Regions from separate parts of the Homo sapiens genome. Here regions 2, 3, 4, 5, 6 and 7 are each linked to region 1. Evidence: promoter capture Hi-C in human tissues and cell types (Jung and others, 2019). All regions are on one chromosome and are shown on one strand. The core of a region is centred on a gene start or on the middle of the fragment in contact, and the rest is flanking DNA. Distances in the headings are between cores, read along the strand shown. Region 1 holds the start of DCTN6 (dynactin subunit 6). Region 2 holds the start of SMIM18 (small integral membrane protein 18). Region 3 has its middle 69 kb from the start of LINC00589. Region 4 overlaps GTF2E2 (general transcription factor IIE subunit 2). Region 5 has its middle 44 kb from the start of LINC00589. Region 6 overlaps GTF2E2 (general transcription factor IIE subunit 2). Region 7 overlaps LINC00589 (long intergenic non-protein coding RNA 589).

Region 1 (2,675 bases), core at 97-2,596:
GCTCTTATTTTTAATTTTTTTCCATTAAAAAAATACATTATAGAAAAAATATATAGAGACGGGATCATGCTGTGTTGACCAGGCTGGTCTCCAACTCCTGGCCTCAAGCGATCCTCCCATCTCGGCCCCCCAAAGTGCTGGGATTACCGGTTTGAGCCACGCGCCTGGCCTCAATTTGTCTTTTAAAGGATGATTTTGACTACAAGAGAACTACTTGGATCAGGGTTGGGGGTGGGAGATGAGGAGGTGTGATTTCAGAGGCCAAGTACAGAATGAGTGAACAACTGGGAGAGACACATCGGCTGAGATTAGAGAGATGGTCCGGTAGACAAAAGTGTAAGCATGAGACCCGAGGTAGGACAAGCAGAACTTGCAGATCTATTACAGATGTAGGGGTGAGGAGTGCCAGGGTGACTCTTGAGTGTCTGGCTTGAGCAGCTAGGCAAATGGTGTGGATCAAAAAAGCAGCAGGTTGCAGGGAGGACGGCAGTGTTAATCGAAAGTCATGTTCTGTAAGTTTTAGGTTCGATACGACTCTGAGCGGAGATGTCAATTAGTCAACCGAATGTCAGGTGTGAAGATCGGCACAGAGGGCAGAACCAGAGACATTCATTAGAGAGCAAACAGGTAGAGGGCACTTAACCTATAGGAAGGATGCACTCATATAGAGCGAGAAAAGGGCCAGAAGGAGCCCTAATGAGTAGAGAAAGACAGGCTGAAAAGGACATCGGCGAGGTCAGAGAAATACCTTTAGGGTGTAATTACGCCTACGCGAGTGGGTAAAATGAGGGCATAATGACGCGGACTGGATTGCAATAAACAGCTTTTATTCTTTTATCAGAGACACGATCTAGCTTTTTAGCCCAGGCCGGAGTGCGGTGGCATCCTCACAGCTCGCTGCAGCTTCACTGGGCTCAGGCGATCCTCTCGAGTAGCTGGGGTACAGGCGCAGGCCACCGTGACAGGCTTTTTTTTTTTTTTTTTTTTTTTTTTTTTGAAGAGAGGGTCTCACTATGTTACCCAGGCTAGTCTCGCAGTCTGGCACTCCTGGCCTCAAGCGATCCTCCTGCCTCGGCCTCTCGGCCTCCCAAAGTGCTGGCCTGTGCCCAGTCAATGGCTGTTCCAAATTAGGGTCTACCCATCTCTATGCAGGGCTAAAGTCCGCGGGCGGCCCCGCACCGCTACCAAAAGTACAGTCCTGTGCGCCCAGACGCGACGCAAACAAGAGTCGCAAGCTTCCGGGTCCCCGCCCCACCCCGGCTCCGCCCCTCCCCCAACCCTGCCAGGCTCTCCAATCGCATGTGGAATTATCGCTCTACCCAGGCGGTGGTGTCGATCTACGTTCCAATTGGGGCCGTACCATGGCGGAGAAGACTCAAAAGAGGTGGGTTTGCTGCTTGAGAAAAGCCTTTTCTCAGCTTTCCGTAGGGGTGGAACCTGTTCCTGGTCGCCAATGGTGGCGACTCAGAAGGTGTCTCATCCTGGGCATTCGGGCCGAAGGTACCTGAAGCCCAGACCTGGCGTCCACTGAGGGAGGGGGCGACGGAGTGGGGGCGGGGAGGGTTGAGAAGGGACGCGGAGTCGCTGCCTGGAAGGTTTTTGTTCCTGTCTGGCCGTCCCTCCCCACATGCGCCTGCGCAGAGGGGGTCTCCCGGCCGGGAGGGCGGGGGGGGCTGTGAGGGGAGGGTGACGTCAGCTTTTTCCTGGGGAAGGCCGGCTCCCTTCTCCCGCATAATCGGCGGTGCTTGGCGCCGCTGTACCCCACGGCTTGGCGCTGGATTCTCTGCTGCATGTTGCGAGACCCCCACGCCAGTGCTGGCCGCACCCCAGGCCCTTCCTGTCTCTGGAGGGTGGGGTGTGTAAAGGGATTTACGGTCGCTGTCAAAAGGGGGGCCGCGCCTGGACTTGAACTGTGACACACACACACACACATTATATAGATGCAAGGAGTACTTGCGCAGATTTGTTGCATAGATAAATTGCGTAATGGTGAAGTTGGCTTCTAGTGTACTTACCACCCAAATAGTGAACATTGTATCAGATGGGTAATTTTTCAGCCCTCAAACCCCTCCTACCCTCGCTGCTTTTAGAGTCCCCAGTGTCTGTTATTTCCCTCTTTATGTTTATGTGTACTCATTTTAGCTCCCACTTAAAAGTGAGAACATGTGCATTTGATTTTATTTCTGAGTTATCGCGTAAGGTAATGGCCTCCAGTTCCATCCATGTTGTTGCAAAAGACATGTTTCCTTTCTTTTTGATGGCTCTGTAGTATTCCATCGTATAGATACACCACATTTCCTTTATCCAGTCATCCGTTGATGAACACTTAGGTTGATTCCATACTTTGCTATTGTGAATAGTACAGTGATAGTCATAGGAGTGCAGTTGTCTTTTTAATACAATGGTTTCCTTTGAGTAGATCCTGGGTCGAATGGTAGTTCCGTTTGGATTGGTAGCTCTATATGGATTGCTGGGTCCAATGGTACTTGTGTTTAGTCCTTTGAGAAATCACCATACTATTTTCAATAGATGAACTAATTTATATTCCCACCAATAGTGTATAAGCTTAGAACTGTGACATTTTTTGCCAGGCGTGGAGTGGACAAGCTCCTTTGTAAACATGTGGGGACAGGAAGTTTGGCTTCTTCTCCGGTAGTCTTCATTGCTGGGGGCTG
Region 2 (2,675 bases), core at 130-2,629, 480 kb after region 1:
CTGCACATTTAATGCTTGTTTAAGTAAAATAATATTAAGCTTACCCCACGCAACTGTATAAACAACTGGGAAGACTATGAAAAAAGAGATGACAATGTGTTAAGGACAAACACCACACAAATGGCCAATTATGAATCACAAACAGTTGTGCTTATGAGACATGATGCTTATGTCTCTGGCATCTACTACTAACTCAATGTCAAGCTTAGTAAACACTCAATAAATATTTGTTGAATGAATGACTATAATACAGATATTTCTATGCATTCCTTTATGGCCCCAGAAACTAATGTACCAATTCATCTATAATTTTATTTTATTTATTTTATTTTATTTTATTTGAGATGGAGTCTCACTCTGTCGCCCAGGCTGGAGAGCAGTGGTGTGATCTCAACTCACTGCAACCTCTGCCATTCGGGTTCAAGCAATTCTCCTGCCTCAACCTCCTGAATAGCTGGGATTACAGGAGACTGCCACCGTGCCTGGCTAATTTTTGTACTTTAGTAGAGATGGGGTTTCACCATCTTGGCCAGGCTGGTCTTGAACTCCTGACCCTGTGATCCACCCAACTCAGCCTCTCAAAGTGCTGGGATTACAGGCATGGGCCACCGCTCCCAGCCTTCATCTATAATTTTAAAAAAGAAGTCTACATAGCATGTACCTGGTCTGCTGCTGTTGTTAACAGCCACTCCCATAATTAAAAACCTTCATTCTGTTGTGCTTAGACCATAACTCTAAATAATACACAGTAACTAAAAATACTCTGTCTCTAAAGAGCCAACCTGGAGATCACTTTGCCATTTACATTTTAGAGACTATTTTTTGAATGCAGGTAGTGTATTTACCTAAATGAGCCCTCTTCCAACTTGCAGAGCTAAAAGCCAATTATTTTCCTTCATAATTCCTCCTAAATCAAACCACCACATGGAAATAATCACTTCCAGAGTGCAAAAATTATATACGGAACAAGTAATGAAAGAAAAGGAAGAACAAGAAAAATTTATAAGATTTTATGCACACTTCCTGAAGGAAATATCAGGCTGGCAAACCTGGACTGTTTGTTTCCTAGGTTACTACCTTTCCCGACATTATCTTCCAGCCCTAGCACTGAAGTATTCACTGAAGGATCTGAAATTTTATAATGAAACACTAAAGAATCATCAATTTGTTAGTAACTCACAAATTCCTATATAGGAATTTAGCTTAAGAACAAAAAAATAAAGGAGAAGGGATGACAGTTGATACCCCAGACAGCTCTATTCAAGTTTATGAATGATTTACTCTTAAGGGTGGCAAGACTTAATGCAAATGAACATAGAGGAAACTGTCAGCTCCATTGTGGTTCAACCAATAGAAGCACAGCTCCATCTTGGCTGTGCACTAGACTGCATTACAAACAGACGATACCATCGCTTCAGCAGCATCCTCTCAGACAAGAGGTAGGTTTATATGATCTTTTTTATTTAGTGGTACATGTCCTTATGATGCAATAGGAAAATATTTTACCCTGAAAAATCAACCAGAAAGCTTTGCTCCTACTAAATATCAAGAAAAAGCAATGTATTCGTTTCACCGCTTGGTAGGATTTTATTATGAAAATATGAAGACTGCCTTGTGCTATTTGATAAGCACCCTTACCATCTGTGCCTTAATGGAAAATTCATTACATTTTACATGAACCTGATCTATATCCAGACCTCAGAGTAAACCATAGCTTTTTATTTTAACTGGTTACTTGCTAATTTCATTTTCTCTGAGCGATTTCATTTCTGCAGTTTGGTCTGTCTTAACAAAGGATTTTTCTTAAAGAAAAACCCAGATCAAAAGCGAATTCCAGACTAAAGCTTTCTGATTCTATGTGCAAATGATATTGGCTGCTAAAAAATAGTTACTTATAAGAAAGTTTGTTATATTTTTTAGAATATGAGAAAATAGTTCAAAATTATTTTTATTTTGCTTTGAATGTAGATGCAGAGAATGCCAAGAAATTATCACAATTTTAATTTTTATATAAAAGATCATAAAAGGTATCACTATATGGGCTGCATTATACTACACTGAACAGATAATTTATACAGCTTCAGACTTCCTTAACATTTAATTAAAGTATTTCTTCACTGTGAAATTTCTCTCTCGTAATATAAAGTCATGCTATTAAACAAAAACCTTCTTAAATAGCCTTTCATTTTTGATATCAATTTATCACACCATTTAAATATAATGTTGAAGTCATTCTTAAACTGATCCTCAAAATAAATACAAAGTAAGTCCTTTTGATAAACTGCATTTTAAAATAAAAATATGTCCTAAGAAGAACTGGTTAAGAAAGGAGAGTAAGTACCTTTCTAGGTAACAAGATTATCTTCGTGGCTCAGAGCAATCATTCATGTCTATTAAAAATTAATATTAACTGCTGACCAAATTTCTAATTTTATACTATTCAAGCATGAAAATTTAGTTATTTACTAGATGTTAGAACTCCATCTATATACTATATCGGACCTAAAGAGCCAGCTTCTGTCCTTTTACCTTGCTGGTAAGTTTATTTAATCTTTAAAGGGTTTTTGTTTTTTTTTTCTTCATAATTTCTATTCCTTTTCTTAGTCGGCATTCAGCTAGCCTGAGCAAAGTATCCCCTGCAAAACCCAAAGGTTGCTGTAATAAGATACTAGATC
Region 3 (2,675 bases), core at 111-2,610, 480 kb before region 1:
GGAGTCTCATCTGAAGGCTCAACTGAAGGAGGATCTCCTTTTAAGCTCACTCACATGATTGCTAGATGGCCTCATTTCCTCACTGTCTATTGATGAGCTCAATTAGTTCCTTGTCATGTGGGCCTCTCTATAGGGAAGTTCACAACATGGAAGCTGGCTTCCTTCAGAATGCTGAATAAGGGAGAAAGAGAAGGCACGCACAATGAAGGCACAGACTTTTTGTAACCTAGCCTTGAAAGTGTAGTTCATTACTTTTGTCATACTCTATTCATTAGATGAATGTCACAGTATTCAACCCACATTCAAGATGAGGGGATTTATACAAGGGCATGAATACCAAGAGAAAGGGATCCCTAGGGGCTATCTTAGAAGCTGCCTACCACACTCCTGCATTCAACAGATGCTTATCAGTAGTCTACTGCTTTCCAGGCATTGTGCTAAGTGGTTCACCAAATAAAAGTTTTTAAAAATGAGACATGGTACCTGCCTCATGAAGCTTATAAAACAAGAGAAGGTAGGCATGAGTTCATGTGAAAATGCAACTCACCGTACTAGGAAACACAGCACAGGGATTTGGCCAAGTCAACAGTCAGTAAATGCTTTTCTGCAAAAGTGACACCTGAGCCAAGGTCTTTTGGAAATCTAGGAAAAGAAGGGAGAGAAAAATCATTCCAGGTTGAGATAATAGCATATGCAAAGGTCCCAATTGGGTATGACATTTAAAAAGTTTTAATCCCAAAGTAATTTATGACATTGGACCAACTTGGAAAAGATATTTACTTTAGATACCTATTAATTTCACTTCAGTCAATAAGCAATACAACTCAGAAGGCATTTTGTCTCTGACTTGCCTCAAGGGCTATGTATGCAACTAAAAAGAGAGAATTTTACAGCAGTGCTTTAGTGGACATTTGAATACTGTTAGATGTACTTAAAATGCAGGTTCTGATTTGGTAGATCTCAGACTTATGCATCAGCATCAACTGGAAGCTTGGTAGAAATGTAGAATCTCAGAGCCCAGCCCAGAGCTCTAGAACAGGTGAGCACTTGAATCACCTGGAAGATCTGGGCTCCATCCCAAAAGATGCTGCTTCAGTTGCCTTGGGTTGAGCTAAAAAATTTGCATTTCTAACAAGTTCCCAGGAGATGTTTCTGCTGCCACCATCCTTTGAGTAATGCCATTCTATGTCCCCAGAGATCAAACTCAGAATATTCCAGAAAAGACCTTGAAAGGTTGTCCCGACTGGGGTAAATGTTAAGGAAAGATCCTCTGCTGGGAGGAAAAAAGATGCGCTCAACTTGTTTTCTCTGAAGGAGAGAGTAAGGAAGAGCTGGAGAGAGAGAGTCTACACCCTGCTGACCGCCCAAGGATACACAGTTAGTGCTTTTTTTTTTTTTCAGGGGTCTTCCAGGGACTATTAGGAATCTCTGTGAATTAGAAGCTGCATTAGTGGGTTCTTACACTGCTAATAAAGACATACCCAAAACTGGGTAATTTATAAAGAAAAAGAGCTTTAATGGACTCACAGTTCCACATGTCTGGGGAGGCCTCACAATCATGGTGGAAGGCAAAGGAGTAGGAAAGGCCTCTTACATGGTGGCAGGCAAGACAGTATGTGTAGGGGAACCGCCCTTTATAAAACCATCAGGTCTCGTGAGACTTATTCACTATCATGAGAACAGCATGGAAAAAGCCTGCCCTCATGATTCTATTACCTCCCACTGGGTCTCTCCCATGACATGTGGAGATTATGGGAGCTATAATTCAAGATGAGATTTGGGTGGGGACACAGCGAAACCATCAGCAGCCAAAACACATTTTTACTGTTACAACTACATTTCTTGCAGACACATTTTAACTCAAATAGTAATTTTCATTTCTTGGCATATCTACATGTCCCTGGGAGACCTTCAGGACATAGGTAATATGGTGTTGAGGTCAGAGAATTGGACTTAGACTCAAAAGACCAAGGAGTGGTCCTCAGCTCTACACTCCTCTGCATGTGAGGCTCCGGTTAAGACATTAACCCTTCAACACCAATTTTCTCACCTGGACAAGGAGAATAGTACCAGCTTCAACCATCAGACAGGAATGCTGTAGGGATCCAAGCAAGAATGTCTTTTCCCTTTCTCTTCTCTCCACCGCCATCCTTCCCTCTCTCTTTCCTTTGTCTTCTCCTGTCTCAGCCTTCCATTTCCTTCCCTGGAGTCAATGGGGTGTCAGCAGGGCAGCCATGTGAGAAGGTAGCCTCATGCAAAGTAATAGAGTCCCCCACCAGGAGACTCTCCTAGCAGTGGGGTGGTCTGGATCAGAGTGTCTGAAAAAGCCTGAGAAAGGTGAGGAGGAAACCCACATACAATGTAGGTTGGCTGTGGTCCCAACCACAGGAAATTGGCTACATAGAGGGAGATGGGTCAAATAAATATATTAAAGACAATGGGAGCCAGGCCTTCACTGTTGAAGAAGGGAATTACCAACATGGAAAGAGAGAAAATTAGAATAGATCCAGTAATGTTAAATTAGAGTTGTTTTTAGATAGACGTAGAAACAAATATAGATGTAAATGCAAGAGTGTGTGTGTGTGTGTGTGTGCTCTCCACCTCTGTCCACTGAGAGATCCTAGGATCAGCAACCCCCCAGTAGCACTGAGAACACTTAACACCCCATGTTGATG
Region 4 (2,675 bases), core at 46-2,545, 460 kb after region 1:
ACATCCATTCCACTACACAGATGTTCACAAAGTAAATGTAAAAGTTCTCTATGTGCTAATTTGAAAAGATGTCCAAGACAAATTAATAAGTTAAAAAACATATGTATCATGCCTATCCAAAGAAAACACACACACACACGTAGATACCAAAAGCTAGAGAGGATGCAAAGGAACAGGAGCTGTCATTCATTACTGGTGAGTATGCTAAATGGTACAGCTACTGTGGAAGACAGTTCAGCAGTTTCTTACAACACTAAACACACTCTTACCATTTGATCAATCTAGCAATCACGATCCTTGGTATTTACCCAAATGAGCCAAAAAATTATGTACATACAAAAATCCACTAAGGATGCTTATTACAGCTTTATCCATAATTGCCAAAAGCTGGAAGCAACCAAGATGTCCTTCAGTAGGTGAGTGGGTAAATAAACCGTGGTATATCCAGACGATGGAATACTATCCAGTGCTAAAACGAAATGAGCTATCAAGCTATGAAAAAAACATGGAGAAACCTTAAATACATATTACTAAGGGAAAGAAGCCAATCTGAAAAGGATACATACTGTATGGCTCCAACTGTTGACATTCCGGAAAAGGCAAAAACCATGGAGACAATAAAAAGTTTAGTGGCTGCAGGCCAGATGCAGTGGTTCACACCTGTAATCCCAGCACTTTGGGAAAACGAAGCAGGCCACAAGGTAAGGAGATCGAGACCATCCTGGCCAACATGGTGAAATCCCATCTCTACTAAAATACAAAAAATTAGCCAGGCGTGGTAGCGGGTGCCTGTAGTCTCAGCTACTCGGGAGGCTGAGGCAGGGGAATCACTTGAACCTGGGAGGCGGAGGTTGCAGTGAGCCAAGATCAAGCCATTGCATTCCAGCCTGGCAACAGAGCAAGACTCTGTTTTAAAAATAAATAAATAATTTTAAAAATTAAAAATTAAAAAAAGTTTAGTGGCTGCCAAGGGTTGAGGGGAGAGGATGAACAAGCAGAGCCCTGAGAATTTTTAGGGCAGTGAAAATACTCAGGAGGATACTAGAGTGGTGGACATAGGTCATTATACACTTGTCCAAACCCACAGAAAGAACACCACTAAGGGTGAACTCATGTAAACTATGGACTTTGAGTGGTAATTTGTCAACGTAGGTTCATTGACTGTCACAAATGTACTCTTCTGGTGCAGGATGTTGATAGTGGAGGAAGCTGTGGGGGGATGGGCAGGGAATGGATGAGAATTCTGTATTTTCCAATCAATTTTGCTGTGAACCTAAAACTGCTCTAAAAAAAAAAGTGTTTTTTAAAGTAAATAAGAAAAAAGTATGTATGTTAAAAAACATATGCACTATGAACCCTTGTATATAGGGAAGGGTAGAAATAAGTATACATTTGAACTTTGTTTCTGCATAAAGAACCACTGGAAAAAAAATCACAAGAAACTAATAAAAGAGGTTACCTGTAGAAAGCACAAGAGGGGAGAAAATGAGTAGGATGACAGGTGAGAACAAGACTCCTTCATTGTACCTTATTATACAACTTTACTTTTTGTACAAAGAGATATGTTATTTATCCAAAACAAAAATAACTCTTCAAAAGAAAAAAAAACCCAAGCTCCAAGTTCCCTCACATTGAGCAGGTTACTGAACCTCATTGGGCTTCAGTCAGGCCCTGGAAAACTAAATAGCCACTTCGCCAAACTAGAAGGTACAGACAGCAGATAGAGACATAAGCTTAACACACCACACAAAAGAACCATTCATTGAGCGTTTGCTGTTAATTCATTCACTTATTCATTCAAATATTTAGTGGTAACTACTATGTGCTGAGAGTACTGCAATGAGACACACAATAAAATGCAAACTACTTCTGCCTTTAGAGCAGAAGAGCTCCCAATAGAGGGGAGAAGCTAAACATACAAGCTACAAAAGTTAGATATGGCCGGGCATAGTGGCTCACACCTGAATCCCAGCAAATTGGAAGGTCAAAGTGGGCAGGTTGCTTGAACCCAGGAGATTGAGGCCAGCCTGGACAACATGGCAAAACTCTGACTCTACCAAAAAATTGCATATATACAAAAATTAATCAGGTATGGTGGCACACGCCTATAGTCCCAGTTCCTTGGCAGGCTGTAACGACTGCTTGAGCCCAGGAGGCAGATGCTGCAAGTGAGCTGTGGTCATGCCACTGCACTCCATCCAGCCTGGGTGACAGAACCAGATCTTGTCTCAAAAAAAAAAAAAAAGCTAGGTAAACAACTATCTGTCAGGAAGGCATCTTCAATCAGAAGAAATGAAAGAGAAAACTGGACAGACCTTGAATGACGACATGATTAACTAGAATACGGGGAAACGCCGGGCAGCTATAGTACAGCAGTGGTCTCCTACGTGGGGTGTACACACCCCAGGGACACAAAAGTGGGTACCTCGTGATGATTCTTTAGAACATTTATTAAAATTGTCTTTAATTTCCATTTAAAAGTTATGCTTTACTTAGGCTGGGCACAGTGGCTCATGCCTGTAATCCCAGCACTTTGGGAGGCCGAGGCAGATGGATCTTGAGGCCAGGAGTTCAAGACCAGCCTGACCAACATAGTGAAATCTGTCTCTATTAAAAATACAAAAAATTAGCCGAACATGGTGGCACATGCCCGTAATCCCAGCTACTCAGGAGGC
Region 5 (2,675 bases), core at 62-2,561, 450 kb before region 1:
AGAAGTCTGCTGCAGGAGCAGAGCCCTCATGGAGAACCTCTACTAAGGCAGCACAGAGGGAAAATGTGCAGAGGGAAAATGTGGGGCTGCAGCCCCCACACAGAGTCCCCACTGGGGCAGTGCCTATTGGAGCTCTGAGAAGAGGGCCACTGTCCTCCAGACCCCAGAATTGTAGATCCACCCAACACCTTGCACCATGCACCTGGAAAAGTTGCATGCACTCACCGCCAGCTTATGAAAGCAGCCACAGGGGATGTACCCTGCAAAGCCACAGGGGAAGAGCTGCCCAAAGCCTTGAGGGTTCAGTCTTTGCATCAGCATGGCCCAGATGTGAGACATGGAGTCAAAGGAGGTTTTGAAGCTTTAAGGTTTAACGACTGCCCTGCTGTATTTTGGACTTGCATAGGGCTGTAGTCCCTTTGTTTTGGCCAATTTCTTCCTTTTGGAACCAGAGCATTTACCCAATACCTGTACCCCCCTTGTATCTTGGCAATAACTAACTTGTCTTTGATTTTACAGACCCATAGATGGAAGGGACTTGCCTTGTCTCTGGTGAGACTTTAGACTTGGACTTTTGAGTTAATGCTGGAATGAGTTAAGACTTTGGGGGACTGTTGGGAAGGTATGATTTTGTTTTGAAATGTGAAAAGGATGTGAGATTTGGGAGGGGCCAGAGGCAGAATGGTATAGTTTGGCTCTGTTTCTAAAACCAAATCTCATGTTGAATCATAATCTCCATGTGTTGGAGGAGGAGCCTGGTAGGAAGTGATTGAATCATGGGGGCAGACTTTCCCCTTGCTGTTCTTGTAATAGCGAGTGAGTTCTCATGAGGTCTGGTTGTTTGAAAGTGTGTAGTACTTCCCTCTTTGCTCTCTCTCTCTCTCTCAATCACTGGCCATGTGAAGATGTGCTTGCTTCCCCTTCACCTTCCACCATGATTTTAAGTTTCCTGAGGTCTCCCCAGCCATGCCTCCTGTACAGCCTGTGGAACTATGAGTCAATTAAACCTCTTTTCTTCATAAATTACCCAGTCTCACGTAGTTCTTTATAGCAGTGCGAGAATGGACTTATATGGCACTTAGACGTTTAGATCATTTCTCATTCTCTAAAGGTGAATAAAAGTCCTCTACCTCTGGCAGAAGACCAGCTGTTTATTCTGTGAAGAGGTAGGTCACAAGAAGCCTATGAACTAGGGTTATCAGCTACAGGTGAAGGCATGGGTAACTTAATAAAATAGGGAGATTAATCAAAGCTTAAATACTAAAATTGACAGCCCCTGCCGAGACTCTTAACCTCCAGGGATGAGGCTGTGTGTTAATCTGTTCTTGCATTACTATAAAGAAACACTGATGCTGGGTAGTTTATAAAGAAAAGACACTTAATTGGCTCATGGTTCTGCAGGCTGTAAAGGAAGCATAGCAGCATCTGCTCAGCTTCACTCATTGTGGAAGGTGAAGGGGAAGCTGACACTTCATATGGCTTGAGAAGGTGGAAGACAGAGAGGGGAGAGGTGCTACACACTTTTAAACAACCAGATCTCATGAGAACTTAGTCACTATCATGAGAAAAGCAAGGGGGAAATCTGCTCCCATGATCAAGTCACCTCTCACCAGGCCCCTCCTCCAACACGGGGGATTACAGTTTGACATAAGATTTGGGCAGGGACACAGACCCAAACCATATCAAGTTGTAAGAGCTTCTCTAAGGAAGCTGACTAACCCCATAAAAAGAGACTGAAAGACTCTGACATTTGAGATTCTCCAATTGTCTTAGTTTATTCAGGCTGCTATATCAAAATACCTTAAACTGGGTAATTTATAAAGAACAGAAATGTATTGCTTACAGTTCTGGAGGCTGAGAAGTCCAAGATCAAGGCACTAGCAGATTCAGTGTCTGGTGAGGACCCACTCCTCACAGATGGTGCCTTGTATGTGTCCTCACATGGCAAAAGGGCAAGGCAGCTCTCTCAGGCCTCTTTTATTTTTATTTATTCATTTTTATTTCAATAGTTTTCAGGGTGCAGGTAGTTTTTGGTTACATGGATAAGTTCTTCAGTAGTGATTTCTAAGATAAGGGGGCACCCATCACCTGAGCAGTGTACACCATATCCAATGTGTAGTCTTTTATCCCCCACCCCCCTCCCACTTTTCTCCCTGAGTTCCCAAAGTCCATTACAACATTCTTATGCCTTTGCATCCTCATGGCTTAGCTCCTACTTGTAAGTAAGAAAATGTAATATTTGGGTTTCCATTCCTGAGTTACTTCACTTAGAATAATGGCCTCTAGCTCCATCCAAGTTGCTGCAAAGGCCATTATTTCATTCCGTTTTATGGCTGAGTAGTACTTCATGGTGTACATATACCACATTTTCTTTATCCACTTATTAGTTGATGTGCATTGGTTGGTTCCATATTTTTGCAATTGGTAATCGTGCGCTATAGACATGCATGTGCAGCTGTCTTTTTCGTATAATGACTTATTTTCCTCTGGGTAGATACCTAGTAGTAGGATTTAAGGATTCTCCGTATTGTTTTCCTTAGTGGTTGTACTAGTTTACATTCCCACCAGCAGTGTAAAAGTGTTCTCTTTTCATCACATCCACATCAATAGCTATCATTTTTTAATTTTTAAATTGTGACCATTTTTGCAGGAATAAGATGGTAGGGGCCAGGCGC
Region 6 (2,675 bases), core at 78-2,577, 420 kb after region 1:
TTCCTGTGTTCTAAATTATCGTGGGAACCTCAGTTACATCCTCTCCTGCCATGTTTTGGGGCTTGGAGGTAAGAAAGAGGTAAAGCAAACAGATAACACTGTAAAGGGATGAGAGGTAAGTAGAAAAGAGAAAACAACTGAAAAAGCAAAAAAAGGTTCTTTGTCGTCTGCACAAAGCACTTCCTGCTCTGGGTTTCCATCATGCCTTTTCTGAGAACCAACACCTCGTTTCCTAATCCACTACTATCCCATGCTGTGACGGGAGGACCATGACCACCAGCACAAAGGACCACAGCAGAACATAAACAGTGCAGGTGAGGAAAATGCAAACTTTGCCGTAGAAAGCAGAACCATGTGAATTTCCCGTGAGTCACCCTCACTCTAAAGAACACTCACATATTTGGTAATGGCTCTCATGAGCTGGGCCGGTGACAGAGGGCATCTCCACCAGAACCATCTCCGGTCAGGCCACATGAGGGTGGAGGCATGGTATAGCTGACGTTCAGGTTGACGAGGAGACACTACAAAGGCTTGCCATCCTGGAATTTACCAAACCCAAGAAGCTGGACACTGATACTTTTTTTTTTTTTTTAAGACGGAGTCTCGTTCTGTCACCAGGCTGGAGTGCAGTGGCACGATCTCAGCTCACTGCAACCTCCGCCTCCCGGGTTCAAGTGATTCTCCTGCCTCAGCCTCCCAAGTAGCTAGGAGTACAGGCACATGCCCCAACGCCCAGCTAATTTTTATATTTTTAGTAGAGACAGGGTTTCACCATGTTGGCCGGGATGGTCTCGATCTTTTAACCTCGTGATCCACCTGCCTCAGCCTCCCAAAGTGCTGGGATTACAGGCGTGAGCCAGCTTGCCCGGCTGACACTGACGCTTCTTTTTAAAAGAAAACATTAACAATGACATCCAGCACATCTTTATTGCTCTGCTTGCTAACAAGCAGCACACCTGTGTTCCAGTGGTGAAATCCATGTGCTCAGCAACACAGTGCAGACTGCAGGCTTCATCACATCCCCAGCACGTGACCCATGGAAATCAGAGACTGGAGCTGCTTCCTGCCATTTCCGAGAATGAAAAGAAACAGAATTCACTAACATCTTAAAAATCCTTCTACAGTGATTTTATTATAAATATGTTCTTTTGGAATAAACAAATATTGCATTCAAGACTATGGGCAAACTTGCTCTAAAGTAACAAACGAGGAAGAAAGGAACCAGGAACCATTTAGAAGTGGAGAAAAACACAGCAAAGACACCTGCATGCCACGCTCAGCGCCTTTCTCCCAGGGAGTAACAGAAGGTTAACAGGGAACATCACATTGCCCATGAGCCCATTCTACTCAAATAAGCTTTGAGTTTGGTAATTTGCACTTGTTTTGTAAACTGAACTGCTCCTCTCCTCAGCCGCAAGAAGCAGATAGGAAGACAGTCTTCAGACCCCGAGCATCAGCAAGAACACTCTTGATTGTGTATCTGTAACTCTGTTCCAGGGCAAAACTGTTCCCTATTTGCTGGAAGTAATGTCAGAGTAATCCTTCAGCACTCCAGCCAAGTGTTCGTTATGAGTCTTAAAGCGTCGCTTTTTCTGTGAAGCAGGCTTTTTCCTTCTCTGAATAGGGGCCTAAAGGAAAAGGTAAAAACAATTAGAAACAACAGCTGCTCTGAGGGGTGGTGTGGCCAGGATGTTCTGAGCATGCCCAGATGCCAGTGGCTGAGGATGCCAGGTTCGGACCCTTCTCCTGCTCTGCCACCCAGCAGCACACATGGGGCACAGCACACGCCCTGACCAGACCCCGGGCCTTTGTTCCCCTGAGATGCAGATGCCATCGGGAATGAAGGAGCAGGCACAAAAACCTGCCAAAATGGTTCTAGGCACTAAGTCAAACAAAAGGGACGATGAAGCCCTTCAGCTCTGTCTCTGTCATCAGGTTTAAAAACGTATCCACCATTACCGATTTTAAAAAGATCTGAAGAAAATATGGCAAAATCCTGAGAAAGGAGGAGCACATGAAGGTCTGTAATATTCTCTATTCTTTTCTATATACTTGAAATATTAGCATCACATGATGAAAAAAATTAACAAATGAGACAATAATAGGAAATCATGAAGGGCTGCAATTACACTCATTTGTGGAAAGAGATTGACAATAAAGCTTCCCTTTAGGTGAGTCCTAAAAATTCACCAAACACACATGCCCACCCCACACCCCAGAAAGACACAGGTGACAAGCTATGAAGCATGACGGTGGATAAGGAAAGGGGGGAGGAGCACAGCACTGCTAACAAGGGTGCTGGTGAATCATCCCCCCGGGCTTTGTTCTTAGACTACAGATTTTATTTGCTGGTGCAAGGCAATGTAAAAGTCATCATTTAATTACTAACATCCCCTGTGAGCAGGATTTAGAGACTATACGGACAAAAATATCTGGTTCCTAGAGGACCTGAAAGTTACTATGGCAGAACCAGGCACCAGGACGGCGAGGCTCACGGAGCAGGGGAGGGCCCCGTTCAAGTCTGAAAGGTTGTGCAGATCAAGGCACAGCATCCCTTTAAGAATAGGGAGAAGGGCTTGTAGCAGCTTAGAGTGGGAGAGTGGGGAACACACAGGCCCTGGAAGGTTCCATATGGCTATACCTCAAGAGCAGGACTGCTTGGGAGGAGCTGGGTG
Region 7 (2,675 bases), core at 98-2,597, 410 kb before region 1:
ATAATCAGGCAGTAGAGTCAGACTTAACTGGGCTCAAACTCTGACTCAGACACTTACCAGATATATATGTGACCTTGGACAAATTACTTTAATTTTCTAAAAATCCCAATTTCCTCATCAGTGAAATGTGAATTCAAATAGGAAGTTATTTAAAGAGTTGGGTGGATTAAAGGTTAACATTTAATTTTTTATAAAACCCCATAAAACATGGTGGCGTGCACCTGTAGTCCCAGCTACTCGGGAGGCTGAGGCAGAGGAATCACTGAACCCGGGAGGCGGAGGTTGCAGTGAGCCGAGATCGTGCCACTGCACTCCAGCCTGGTGACAGAGCAAGACTTAAAAAAAAAAAAAAAAAAAAAAAAAAAAAAAAAAAAAAACCATGAAACGGAATTAATACCTTAAAAAAGCACTTATTTTATGCCAGGCTCTACTTCGGTTCTATCTTTCCATTAACCCTAAGGAGTCATTGCTATTATAACCTCCATTCTACAGATGAGGAAAGAGACACACAGAGATTAAGGCATTCGTCCAACATCCAGAAACATCCTGAGAACCTGGCAAACTCAAGGGACTTGTGGGGGTGGGGCTGCTCTGCTCCATGCCTTAGGCCCTCCCATCCCTAAAGGGCAGTGGGACCCCTAGGGGCCTTGGCCTTCATGTGTCTCCAATACTCAATTTACCCCATTTCCCTGGGGTGACCAGCTACCCAAGGAGCTTAAAGACCTGCACCTATGGGGTTGTCCCAGGGTCCTCAGTTGGGCCCAGACCCAAGAGGGTGTCCCATCAAGAGATTATGCCTGCCGGTCGGCAGAGTATCCTTTCATGAGATTGTGTGAGGCACTAGAATGGTGCTGACACCAAGATTTTAAGGTAACTCAAATTTCTGTATAGAGATGAGACCCTGTAAAAATATTTTCCCAGGGCCACACACCCTAAGGCAGCCCACACAATGTCCCCCTGCCAAGAAACCATAAGCCGGGACTGGAACCGTGCTCTCCATGTGCAGAACGGTCTCTCGGCAAGCACACGAATGCAGTGAAGTTATTATTAGATTTTAAATGCTTTGGGGAGTTTGAGCTAAAAGAAATCCCATGGTAAAGCAAGTTTGTAAAACAAAATGTGACTTGGCCTCTGTTTTTAAGTCTCAGTTCCAGAGGAGAAAGGCAGACGTTCTACAACAAAGAATGTGGCTGGTCTTTGACTAGGCTCCTGGGTGGGAATTTCTAAACCCTTGGAGTGTTCTGAGCGATAGGAGTGTCTTTGGTACTCATGCTGGGCCCCTAAGGCCAGGCCTGAGTTCATGCTGGTGAGGTGAGGTGACTATGCCCTTGACAGTTTCAGCATAGGGACTATCCAGGCCAGAAACGCCAATCATATGCTTAGAGGGGTTGGGGGAGTGGGGAAGGCTGCAGATGAGATCAATAATGTGGCTTGTATTTCAATCATGTGTGGGTGGCCTGGAAACCCCAGGGCTTGTGGCTGGGGTCTAAAGGGTGGGGAGTTTTTTGGGGGTCTGTGCTTCCAACCAGGAAAGTCTGCACCAACTCTGGTAGTTGGTGTCAGAATTGCACTGTAGCAGGAAATGGGAAGCCCTGTCCTGTGAAGCTGTGCCCCAGCGGGGAAGGGGTAAAAAGGGCAATGGAACAGCCCGGCTTCACATTGTGTGTTTCAGGACCCTCTATCTCCATCTGTACCTTCCCAAGCCTTGTCCTTTATCCTCCACCTAACACCTCTCCCCTGCCACAGCTGAGAGATCATGTCTGAAACACATGCTGTCCTCTTAAAAACCTTCAAGTGTCTTCCTTACTTATATCCTGTTACTATCTGCTGACATGTGGAGAAGAGAAATTAGGCAGATTAACTTGATCACCATGATATATCCCATGCCTGAATTTAGATTCTCTTCCAAGGACCTCAGATAGTTGACACATGTGTCCTGAAGACATTTGAAGCAGAATGAAGTCTTTTTCTCATGAGGCTGGATCAAGTAGGACTCTGTCTACTTGACTGTTTTGTCAACAGAGGCACAGGATGAAGTAGAAATAGTATCAAAGTGGAGATAAACGCCCTGAGTCTCGGTCATCTCAGGGACTGTGCTCTCCCAGGAAAAGCGAGAGATGGATGGCAGCTGCTGGAGAGCACATAAATGTCATTTCCAAGTGCCCAGGATTGCCATTGGCCATATCGATTGGATAATGACAAGGAGAGCTGGTTCGATTCCAAAAAGAGAAACTATGCAGAGGAGGCAAGAGGCAAAAGGAGTACTTAATTTTTATGAACCTGTTGGCGGGTGCTCCATATTAATATTTCATTTGTCAGTCTTGTCTTCTTTTTTATTTTAAACTCAAAATGAAGAGCAATGCCTAGCTCCTGACTGTAATCTCAGTAGGAGTGTGTGGTGTGTCCACATCCTGCTCCATGCCCCAGACCACTGTAGTTAATGACCACACATACAGGCATTGTGGAACAGTCTTCTGGTTTTGTAAAACAGTTACAAGTTGAATTTTGGGAATATGTAATCATTTCAAGGATTTTATATTTTTTAAAAAAATCATCCTACTGCTAAATAGCAGCCCTCTTGTTCTCAGCCAACAGCATGTGGAGGGGGTCTAACTTAGGGGCCATAAATAAATCTGGACAATAACCCTGCATAAAGCAATCTTATTCTTTCCCCC

The links. Contacts are between HindIII fragments. The study calls those that stand out against the background at their distance.
Region 2: the fragment with the promoter of SMIM18 here is called in contact with the fragment with the promoter of DCTN6 in region 1 in 1 of the 25 tissues and cell types used here (mesenchymal stem cells).
Region 3: a contact is called between a fragment that was not itself captured here and the fragment with the promoter of DCTN6 in region 1, in 2 of the 25 tissues and cell types used here (heart left ventricle and mesendoderm cells).
Region 4: a fragment that was not itself captured here is called in contact with the fragment with the promoter of DCTN6 in region 1 in 2 of the 25 tissues and cell types used here (IMR-90 fibroblasts and hippocampus).
Region 5: a contact is called between a fragment that was not itself captured here and the fragment with the promoter of DCTN6 in region 1, in 1 of the 25 tissues and cell types used here (thymus).
Region 6: a contact is called between a fragment that was not itself captured here and the fragment with the promoter of DCTN6 in region 1, in 2 of the 25 tissues and cell types used here (dorsolateral prefrontal cortex and mesenchymal stem cells).
Region 7: a contact is called between a fragment that was not itself captured here and the fragment with the promoter of DCTN6 in region 1, in 1 of the 25 tissues and cell types used here (lymphoblastoid cells).

The regions. Positions count from the first base shown.
Region 1 is chr8:30,155,023-30,157,697 of GRCh38, forward strand. DCTN6 (dynactin subunit 6) reads left to right here and starts at 1,347. Exons shown (of 7, transcript NM_006571.4): 1 at 1,347-1,384. The coding sequence starts at 1,362. It overlaps DCTN6-DT (DCTN6 divergent transcript), which reads right to left and starts at 1,638. Exons shown (of 1, transcript NR_186490.1): 1 at 807-1,638. It overlaps LOC124901927 (a long non-coding RNA gene), which reads right to left. Exons shown (of 2, transcript XR_007060880.1): 2 at 2,150-2,675. RefSeq lists enhancers at 438-647, 472-1,454, 1,398-1,547 and a silencer at 1,608-1,717. The HindIII fragment of the contact is 3,226 bases long and covers 1-2,675 here.
Region 2 is chr8:30,637,201-30,639,875 of GRCh38, forward strand. It overlaps SMIM18 (small integral membrane protein 18), which reads left to right and starts at 1,380. Exons shown (of 3, transcript NM_001206847.2): 1 at 1,380-1,439. The region is part of intron 2 of GTF2E2 (general transcription factor IIE subunit 2); the gene reads right to left. The HindIII fragment of the contact is 2,719 bases long and covers 1-1,685 here.
Region 3 is chr8:29,677,363-29,680,037 of GRCh38, forward strand. No RefSeq gene overlaps it. Among named protein-coding and RNA genes, the nearest start is that of LINC00589, 69 kb to the right of the region's middle. The HindIII fragment of the contact is 5,662 bases long and covers 1-2,675 here.
Region 4 is chr8:30,615,522-30,618,196 of GRCh38, forward strand. The region is part of intron 3 of GTF2E2 (general transcription factor IIE subunit 2); the gene reads right to left. Among named protein-coding and RNA genes, the nearest start is that of SMIM18, 22 kb to the right of the region's middle. The HindIII fragment of the contact is 4,176 bases long and covers 1-2,675 here.
Region 5 is chr8:29,702,591-29,705,265 of GRCh38, forward strand. No RefSeq gene overlaps it. Among named protein-coding and RNA genes, the nearest start is that of LINC00589, 44 kb to the right of the region's middle. The HindIII fragment of the contact is 6,434 bases long and covers 1-2,675 here.
Region 6 is chr8:30,577,410-30,580,084 of GRCh38, forward strand. It overlaps GTF2E2 (general transcription factor IIE subunit 2), which reads right to left. Exons shown (of 8, transcript NM_002095.6): 8 at 909-1,628. The coding sequence ends at 1,512. Among named protein-coding and RNA genes, the nearest start is that of SMIM18, 60 kb to the right of the region's middle. The HindIII fragment of the contact is 3,629 bases long and covers 1-2,675 here.
Region 7 is chr8:29,741,608-29,744,282 of GRCh38, forward strand. The region is part of intron 1 of LINC00589 (long intergenic non-protein coding RNA 589); the gene reads right to left. Among named protein-coding and RNA genes, the nearest start is that of LINC00589, 5.2 kb to the right of the region's middle. The HindIII fragment of the contact is 3,368 bases long and covers 1-2,675 here.